2 separate regions of the Homo sapiens genome follow, and region 2 is linked to region 1. The links are contacts of gene promoters, found by promoter capture Hi-C in blood cells and fetal thymus (Javierre and others, 2016). All regions are on one chromosome and are shown on one strand. Each heading gives the region's core, a stretch centred on a gene start or on the middle of the fragment in contact. The rest is flanking DNA. Distances are from core to core; before and after follow the strand shown.

Region 1 (4,562 bases), core at 1,874-4,373:
GTTCATTCTCTTCCGCTGCCACAGCATGCTACTGTTACTTAAATTTAGCATTTAAACCATCCTATTTTATAATGGGGTATAATGCATACACATCTTATTGCTATACTAGACTCTAAGCTCCTGGAACAGAGTCTTGACAGCTGACTTTAAATCTCTTGCCCTATCTAACATGCTTGCATATGGAAAGCATTCAAATATTTATTCAAACAATGGATAATTTTATTATTGTTATTTCAACGTCCTCCGAATCACTGAAATAAAAGATCACAGTTTATTTCTGACTCATTTATTTTTCAAATGTAAACTCCTCAATTTTAACTTCTACAGTTTCTTCCAAATTGCTATGTATAGAAATAACTTTATGATATTTTTAAAAGGCATATTGCTAACAAAACATTTATTTCACCTACCTTAAGACGTTCTCCCAGGTTATCATGAACTACAGCAGGAAAATAAACCACCTCTTGTACTTCATCATAGAGTCTATCTGAATTTTTTCCAAAAATAATCCTGTTATCGACTGTTGCTGGAGGTAATGCCACGAAAGTGTCACAGGAAAAAGGTTCCATTTTTTTTAACTAAAAATTATACAGATGTTTTAAAATAAAAAGAACACTTTTAAGTATATAAAAATAAAGAGTTTTACTCAATGACCAAAGGATATTATTGCCATATCTAATTAAGGATGTTCATTAAAGCTTTGATTTTTTTATTTTTATTTTTTGGAGACAAGGTCTAGCTCTTTCACCCAGGCTGGAGTGCAGTTGTATGATCAGGGCTTACTGCAGCCTGGAACTCCTGGGCTCAGGAGATCCTCCCCCTTCTGCCTCCCAAAGCCCTGGGATTACAGGCATGAGTGACCGTGCTTGGCTGTTCATTAAAGTTTTAAATTTTGTATACTACAGCCTAAAAATCAGTAAGAATATGACTTGGGACTCAATCTGGTACTACAACTCAGTAAGAAAATGGCAATGAGAACTACCTTCTTCTACTGTATAGTTCACATTTATTCTCTAAGACCTTTCTCTCCTAAAGTCTTCCCTGAATTTCGTTTCACCATTTCCATATTTGGGAATCCGTGTACCTAGCTCTATTGTTGTAAAGGCTAGATTCCATTACATTCGTGTATATATAAATCCCTTTACTGGACAATGAGATCCTTGAGGGCTGGGAGTATGTCTTACTAATCTTTATATTCTCTTTGCTGGAACTTGTCTTATGGAAAAAAATCTTACGTGCCCAGTACTTCCTCAAAGGAAGGAAGAAGGGGTCTTATTTGAGCTGGGAAATAATACACATTATAATTCTGATGAGACTGAAATTTTGAAACAGACTCATTGATTCAGACAAAAATATGTCAATATAATTCCAAATTGCTGATATTTCTAGGAGAAAGTTCACATATTTAATTTATAAATCGCAATTATATACTTTAATATCTAGATTACCTCTTCAGTTGTAACTTGGAAAATCTTAGATCTTCACTTATAATAGAACACCTAAAGGTCCTTATTTTGCTGCCAGAACAGACACATTGTTTTACAGAGTTTCCTTCTTTCCTTTAATAATGGCAAAACCTTAAAATGGCTTTACACAGGCAGATGCTAGCAACTTAAAAACAAAATTTAAATATAATAAATGTTTCCTTAAAAAGAAAAGAAAATGACTAAATAAAAACTTCAGACTGAAACTCTTAAGGGTTTTCCTCTTCTCCTCAGTGACGAGAAGTCTGATGTCTTGATGGCTTCTGTTATTTTCTTTCTGTATTTCAACTCTTATGTCCTGGATCTCCTTCTATTTGTGTTTTATAGTTAGTTCTATCACTATATAACTTTGGCAGACTATTTAATCTCTCTCTTACCTATGCCTTCTGCCTCATCAGAAAAATAAGACACTATTTGATGGGCTGTTATGAGAACTTAATAAGGCAACACGTAAAGTGTTTTGCACAGTGCATAGAACATAGTAGATACTCACATGAAAGCTGTTATTGTTATTATTTGGTAGGAGAGAAAATTTCTCATAAAGGCTTATTCGTTTTTTGTTTTTTTTTTTTGATGGAGTTTAACTCTTGTTGCCCGGGCTGGAGTGCAATGGAGCAGTCTTGGCTCACTGCAACCTCCGCCTCCCGCGTTCAAGTGATTCTCCTGCCTCAACCTCCCGAGTAGCTGGGATTACAGGCGCGTGCCACCACACCCGGCTAATTTTTCGTGTTTTTAGTAGAGACGGGGTTTCACCATGTTGGCCAGGCTGGTCTTGAACTCCTGACCTCAGGTGATCCACCCACCTTGGCCTCCCAAAGTGCTGGGATTACAGGCGTGAGCTACCGCGCCCGGCCAAGGTTTATTCTTAACATTACCCTGATAGAGAACTTGGTTGGTGGATCACCTGCTGCAGTAGCAGCCACGTCCACTCAAAAACCTGGAGTCCCAAGGGCCATCAAGCTGCAATAGTAACCTGAGCTGCCTAACTGGGGTCGTAGGGAAAGCTAAGGAAACTTGCCCCCTGGTTAGAATTGCACCTAGCCCACTGAGGAGGTGAAGCCTTGAGAGATTTTACCAACTCCTAACGCGTATTCGTCATTCAATAAGTATTTATTGAACGTCTTTCGGCGCCAGTACCGTACAGCTGGGTACAAAATAGACAGGGCCTCCGTTCTTGCAGAGCTGTCTGTCATTCTATTTCACGCGCTCTTAGTTCAGCCGGCGCTTTCAGAAACATCATATTGTTGGATTCTCGCAAGCATACTACGGTTAGGGCCGGAATTATTATCTTCATAACATAGATGAGAAAAACAGTGCAGAAAAGCTTTTGCAGCTCGAGTCAGAGTCCACAGAAAGTAATGGGCTCGAGCTTCAAGCACCTTTGGTCGAAGGGCCGCCGCGGTCCACCCCGCACCCCGGCCCTGGGCGCTCAAACCGCAGCCGGTGCAGCTGGGCTCCGGAGCCCCTCGGTCAAGCAGTGCCGCGCCACAGTTGGGTCTTCCGGGTTTCTGTCTCAACTATGCACGCCCCTCCCCCGTGCGCGCCCCTCACCTGGCCTCCCAGCTACCCGAAGTGACAGGTGGACGGAGGGAGGAGTGGCCAGTGGAGGCATCAGTTGCCGGAAGCTGTCACCTTTGATCTCGGAAGTTCCCCCTTGCTGCTGGAAACGCAGTTCCGGTTAGGCGGCTGAGTTTGTTTACGTTGCTAACAGATCTAGCCCCTGCTTTCCCTAGTTCCAGTTCCAAGATGGGGAAATCCTTCGCCAACTTCATGTGCAAGAAAGACTTTCATCCTGCCTCCAAATCCAATATCAAAAAAGTGAGTAAACAGACCCGGGGAGGGATTAGGCCCACAGGGACCGCCTTCCCAGAGGCTGCTGGAAGTGAAAGTGATGGTGTCTCTGAGATCCCTAGGACAGCCTCCGCTTCTCTAGGCCTAAAGCCCTGGTGGTCTCGCCTTTCTCTGCTGAGCAGCTCGCTGACGCAGCGGGTCCTCAGCGTTTATTCTGCAACAGCGAGGAGACCGGTGGCCTAGAGAATCTTTGTCGGCCAGAATGCAAATCCATAATATGCGAAGACTAATGTCAAAATTCCTCAGTACTTCCTTCAGCTGATTCTGGTTTTTTGTCTTTTCGGATCCCAGGGATCACGGCTTCTGAACTCTACTTTTCTGTACAAAGAAGCCTCCCCGTTTACTTAAGATAGATCTTTAAAAAAATTACCTAATAATCTAGTGTCTTTTTGATGACTAAACTCGTTGAAGTTTAGTGTTTTACATAATTACAGGTCTACCAGTTGTAATACTTTGGTGAATATCATAGTAATGAAAAGCAAAAGAGTGAAGTAGAAAGAATCAGCTTTGGAGTCAAACCTGGATTCTAGTTATTCGAGCAGTCACTTTTAGCCTTAAGACCTTGCACAAAATATTTGTAATATCTGACCCTCAGTCTTCTAATCTGTAAATTAAGGATGATTGACTTAATTGTGAGGATTAAGTGAAATAGTGAAGATAAAGGATTTGAAACAACGTAGGCATCTATCACTGTGTCCACTACAGAGAGGAGGTGCTCAATAAAATGTTGATTGCCCCTACATAGAAACTTGTGAAAATAACTAAGCTTTTATTTGTTTTTAGAACGAGTTGAGGTGATGAGATACTGCTATATACTCTCACTTCTAGACCAGTGATTCTCAACTTTTTTTTCACTGTTACCTTCCTAAGGAGTCTTATTAAACATTTTTTCTTAATAACTCCCCCATGAAATTTTAATAACACAGATACACCTTGAAAGCTCTTTGGTAATCATCCAGCCCCATCTCCTCATTTTATAAATGAGGAAACAAATTTGCCAAGAGTTACACAGCTAGTTAAATGTTGTACCAGAACTAGGATCTGGAACACCTGATTAACCCAGTGATTTTTTTTCCACTGCACCAGTTTGTGTTTGTGTGGTTGCAACTGTGGGAGGGAGAGGTTTCTTGTATTTGGTTGGCTCAATAACTTTTGACACCAAACACAGACATTTCCTTTCTCTGCATACTTAGGGGGTCAGCTGTTACTATTTTTACAAGAATGAAG
Region 2 (4,984 bases), core at 1,903-4,402, 2.5 Mb after region 1:
TTACATTTGTACTCTGCCAGTTTCTTCTCCACTGCACTCTTATATTCTACCAAAAATTTCTCCATAGCACCAAATCCTAAGAGAAAAGGTTTTTAAAAGGTTTAGTTTGGAAGTGACTTAAATTGTCAAACCTGCAATAGGGTTATTATAAGTGGAATAGGGGTATGATTTAAAACATGCTGATAGATCATAAAAGCACAAGTCATTCTCCACATACTCTTAAATAAATGTATTAAGAATGCCAGCTGGGCACGGTGGCTCACGCCTGTAATCCCAGCACTCTGGGAGGCTGAGGTGGGTGGATCACAAGGTCAGGAGTTCGAGGTCAGCCTCGCCAAGATGGTGAAACCCGTCTCTACTAAAAATACAAAAATTAGCCGGGCACGGTGACGGGCGCCTGTAATCCCAGCTACTTGGGAGGCTGAGGCAGGAGAATCTCTTGAACCCAGGAGGCAGAGGGTGCAGTGAGCCGAGATCATGCCACTGCCCTCTAGCCTGGGCGACAGAGCAAGACTCCATCTCAAAAAAAAAAAAAAAAAAAAAGAATGCCTCATTACAAAACAGAAAAAGAAATCACTTTTGAGATACAGGCTTATAAACTAGGAATACTTAATATAAATGAATAAACCTGAAAATTAACATGATAGATTACTAACATTTCTGAACATGTACTAATACAAATTACCTGCTAGGATTTATACCTAAGTCGTCTTTTTCATTATAAGATGTAAAAAGCAAAATGAGAATGTCCTCTGATAATTATGACAGAATTTCATTTTAAGTATTGGAAAAAGTCTACCAGAGTGCTTCAGATAAGGAAATGATAATGCATGGAATGTCTCAAGAAGAATACACAAATATCTGGTAACCATAGTTACCATGGGTAAAGAAAGAAGGAAGAGGAACAGGGGCACAAAGAAAACATCTTTCCACTGTATTAAATATTTAAAAATCATGTATGCCTAAAGTCATAAACTGTGAGCTACTGGCACAATAGTTTTACTACATAGTGGCTACTCAATAATATACATAATAAATAACATTGGAAGATATCACTATCAAGAGAAACTTTCAAGATAACAAATCTCCTGACAAAATGGGCATATGATTAGTAAAAATGGGCTGGGCGCGGTGGCTCACGCCTGTAATTTCAGCACTTTGGGAGGCCGAGGCAGGGGGATCGCGAGGTCGAGACGGATATCATCCTGGCCAACATGGTGAAACCCCATCTCCACTAAAAATACAAAAATTAGCTGGACGTGGTGGCGCGTGACTGTAGTCCTAGCTACTCCGGAGGCTGAGGCAGAATTGCTTGAATCCAGAAGGCAAAGGTTGCCGAGATCGCGCCACTGCACTCCAGCCTGGTGACAGAGCGAGACTCAGTCTCCAAAAAAAAAAAAAATCAGTAAAAATTCAGACAGAAAAAAGCCATAAGCAAAAAATAAAAAGGGGTACAATGATGTGCTATAAACTTCAAAAAGGGGTTAAAACACACACACAGAAAATGGGAAAGACTTGAAGCAGTACAGATTAATAGTCTGGAGTGAGAATTCCTGGATTCTGACTATTTCACACACTTACTGAGCTAGTAAGCTCAGGGAACTAGAGCACATTACTTAACCCCTCTGACCCTAATCTACAGAACCGAGATTACAGAATTTACTTCGAGGAATGTAAGCAACAAAATTTAACCTGTGAAATCATATATTAGCTCAATCTGCACAATTCTATAAGTAGGTATTACATCAACCCCATTTTACATTCAAAAGTTCAGGCTTAGAAAGAGGTTTAGTTGAAGGGCATCCAACTACTAAATGATGGGCCCAAAATTCGAATTTAGATGTAATTCTTAGAGTACGTCCTCCCTCTTCTGTGGTACTTCAAGATCCTACAATCTCCATCTGGTAGAAAAGTCCTTCTTTAAACATCTGTAGAGCTCACACAACAGCTTGTCTATCCCACATATTCATAAAAATGGAATGGTTAATGTAGAGAGACTATGAGGAATGCCCTGTAAAGAGATGATAAAAGCAACAAAGGCCAGCGAAGTGGCTCAATCCTGTCATTCCAACACTTTGGGAAGCTGAGGCGAGAGGATGGCTTGAGGCCAAGAGTTCCAGACCGGCCTGAGGCAATACAGCCAGACTCTGTCTCTAAAAGGTTAAAAAAAATTGTTTTTTTTTAGCCGAATGTTGTGGCGCATGCCTGTAGTCCTAGCTACTCGGGAGGCTGAGGCAAGAGGATCGCTTGAGCCTACGAGGAGTTGGAAGCTGCCCGGAACTATGATCGCTGCACTCCAGCCTGGGCGACAGAGAGACCCTGTCTCAGGAAAAAGAAACTGTCCATAACTTCAAAAGATAAGTAATCGAAAAAAATAATCACACCAAAACAGCCTTAATACACGTACAAAGTAATAGCAATTATACATTATTAAATGTTGTAACTTGAAGGGTCTCTAGAATGTACACAAGAGAATTGTATTATAGTAGTCCAACCCTAAAAGAGAAGGGAGCAGTTCAGGAACAAAGTCTTTCTCAAAGGGCATCTAAATACGATCCTCGGAATACTAAAGTGTGACAGATTAACGAGACGACTACGAAGTCAGTCGAGATCCAAGTGGGAGCGCCAGAGCAGGGCAAGGCAGCAATGCGCTAGCTCAGAAGTTGACTGTAGTGGAAGGTAGACGGAGACCTGGAAGAGGAGGAGGATCTGAGCATTAAAATCAGCTGGCGGGAACAGGACCAGATGTACAAGAGCTGAAGCAAGCAGCAGTGGACAAAAGGAATGGGAAGAGAAACAGGCCCCAAGGCATGTGGCATTTTACGAGCCCAAATCATGACGCTTTTCCCTGGCGTCTTCGGCCCTCGGTAGGGGCCGGATTGCTGGCAGAAGGCGCAGAACCCCAAGCAGTTGGGGGCGGGGGCGCGGACCGCCGCCAACAAGGAGCTGCTGGGCTGAGAGTTCCGCGCTTCCGGTCCCAAGCAGGCCTTCTGGAACCCAGGCTACAGCCCGAAAGTTCTAGGCGGGCATTGTCACCACCGTCTCGGCGTTCTATCCCCGATCTGGCCGCCTCCTCCCCTTGGTAAACTTTTCCCGGTAACTTACCCGCCATTTCCGAGCTACGATCACCCGCGGCTGAGGAAGGACGAATCAACCCGCGCGCTCCCGGGCCGGAAGTGACCGCACAGTCTGACATATTTTCCCCGCCCACTCCCAGCGTGACGTTAGCCAATTAAAGGAGGCGTGTCCAGGAGCCCGGCGGCGGAAGCGCCTCAAGAGGCGGGGCTAACGCCGAGAAGTCTGCGCGGGCCGTTGCCTAGCCACTGCGAATGCCGTCAGCCGCTTTGCAGGCCTGAAGTGGAGAAGGAGGCCGCAAACGGACTTTCGCGGTTGAGATGCTCTCTGGCCCTAGGAAAGTTTCTCTGGGGTTGATTTGATCAATACAGACACTTTACGCCTGTTTTCCATACCCGTCCCTGAGATGTTTTGGAGACTGGCTGAAAATCTTTCCTCTTGGCCTGGACAGTGCATCCAAACACCTGAGCCCTGTGGGCAATTTTACCATTTTACCTAGGTAAAATGTAGAGGTTGAGTTTCAGTTGCGGGAGAAGCTTTCACTTGTTTTCCTCATTTGTTTCTCATTTTGCTGTAAACTTTAACACCTTTTTTCCTTTCTCCCCTGTTTTTAACGTATACAGTATGATATTTAGGTACTCTGCTTTCACTCTGCAGGTTACTAAGAACCGTTTAGCGCGCAAAAATCGTTACCTAGGCCGGGCGCGGTGGCTCACGCCTATAATCCCAGCACTTTGGGAGGCCGAGGCGGGTAGATTGCCTGAGCTCAGGAGTTCGAGACCAGTGTAGCCAACATAGTGAAACCCCGTCTCTACTAAAAATACAAAAATTAGCCAGGCATGGTGGCAGGCGCCTGTAATCCCAGCTACTCGGGAGGCTGAGGCAGGAGAATCGCTTGAACCCTGGAGGCGAAAGTTGCAGTGAGCCGAGATTGCGCCACTACACTCCAGCCTGGGCAACAGAGTGAGACTCCGTCTCAAAAAAAAAAAAAAATTGTTACCTAATAAATACCTCAAGTAGCCTGATGTAGTCTTGCATGCCACATGTCCTAGTGGTTTGAATTACATCACAAGGTGCTACCTGATTTTAGCCATAGGCCTTGTTAGTATTTAGTAGCTGTAGGAACTGCTTTCCCCAGAGGATAAACCACTATTTAGGTATCCACAAATATTCCCACAATGTTGGCTATACACCAGAATTCCTTATCTCAACAAATATTTGTTAACAGGTTTTACAGTGATGCACGCTAAAGCTAAAATGGACCCTTGGGATGATGGTCTAGAACTAACACGCCCTCTCATTTTAGAGATGAGGAAACCAAAGCCCAGAAAAGATAAACTGCCCAAGTTCATTCTCAGTATGCAACCTATGCAGAGTGCAGTTCATCAGATACTCAGCCCAGTATTTATTTGCTCAACTATATAGAGATGGCTTTCCTGAAGATAAAGATCAGAAAAGGTACTGAGAATGCCCAGATCCTTTTTCTTTCTTTTTTTTTTTTTTTTTTTTAGACGGAGTTTCACTCTTGTTGCCCAGGCTGGAGTGCAATGGCACAATCTCAGCTCACCACAGCCTCCGCCTCCCGGGTTCAAGCGATTCTTCTGCCTCAGCCTCCTGAGTCGCTGGGATTACAGGCATGCGCCACCACACCCAGCAATTTTGTATTTTTGTAGAGACGGGGTTTCTCCATGTTGGTTAGGCTGATCTCGAACTCCCAACCTCAGATGATCTGCCCATCTCGGCCTCCAAAAGTGCTGGGATTACAGTCGTGATCCCAAGAAAAGGTTTCAAGATCCTTTTTCTTGAAACCTAATGATACACAAGAAATTACAGTCATAGGCCGGGCGTGGTGGCTCACGCCTGTAATCCCAGCACTTTGTGATGCCGAGGCGGGCGGATCACGAGATCA

What was found. Contacts are between HindIII fragments. The CHiCAGO score rates a contact against its expected background, and 5 or more counts as called.
Region 2: a contact is called between the fragment with the promoter of HAT1 here and the fragment with the promoter of SCRN3 in region 1, in 1 of 17 cell types (non-activated CD4 T cells). The highest score is 6.2, in non-activated CD4 T cells.

Annotation. Positions count from the first base shown.
Region 1 is chr2:174,394,291-174,398,852 of GRCh38, reverse strand. SCRN3 (secernin 3) reads right to left here and starts at 3,123. Exons shown (of 8, transcript NM_024583.5): 1 at 3,036-3,123; 2 at 411-578. The coding sequence starts at 569. CIRSR (corepressor of RBPJ and splicing regulator) reads left to right here and starts at 3,141. Exons shown (of 10, transcript NM_004882.4): 1 at 3,141-3,302. The coding sequence starts at 3,231. RefSeq lists enhancers at 2,195-2,695, 3,193-3,242. The HindIII fragment of the contact is 1,293 bases long and covers 2,811-4,103 here.
Region 2 is chr2:171,920,629-171,925,612 of GRCh38, reverse strand. HAT1 (histone acetyltransferase 1) reads right to left here and starts at 3,152. Exons shown (of 11, transcript NM_003642.4): 1 at 3,106-3,152; 2 at 1-76. The coding sequence starts at 3,112. It overlaps LOC105373740 (a long non-coding RNA gene), which reads left to right and starts at 3,224. Exons shown (of 3, transcript XR_923579.2): 1 at 3,224-3,574; 2 at 4,382-4,533. RefSeq lists enhancers at 2,878-2,927, 3,068-3,716. The HindIII fragment of the contact is 14,743 bases long and covers 1-3,613 here.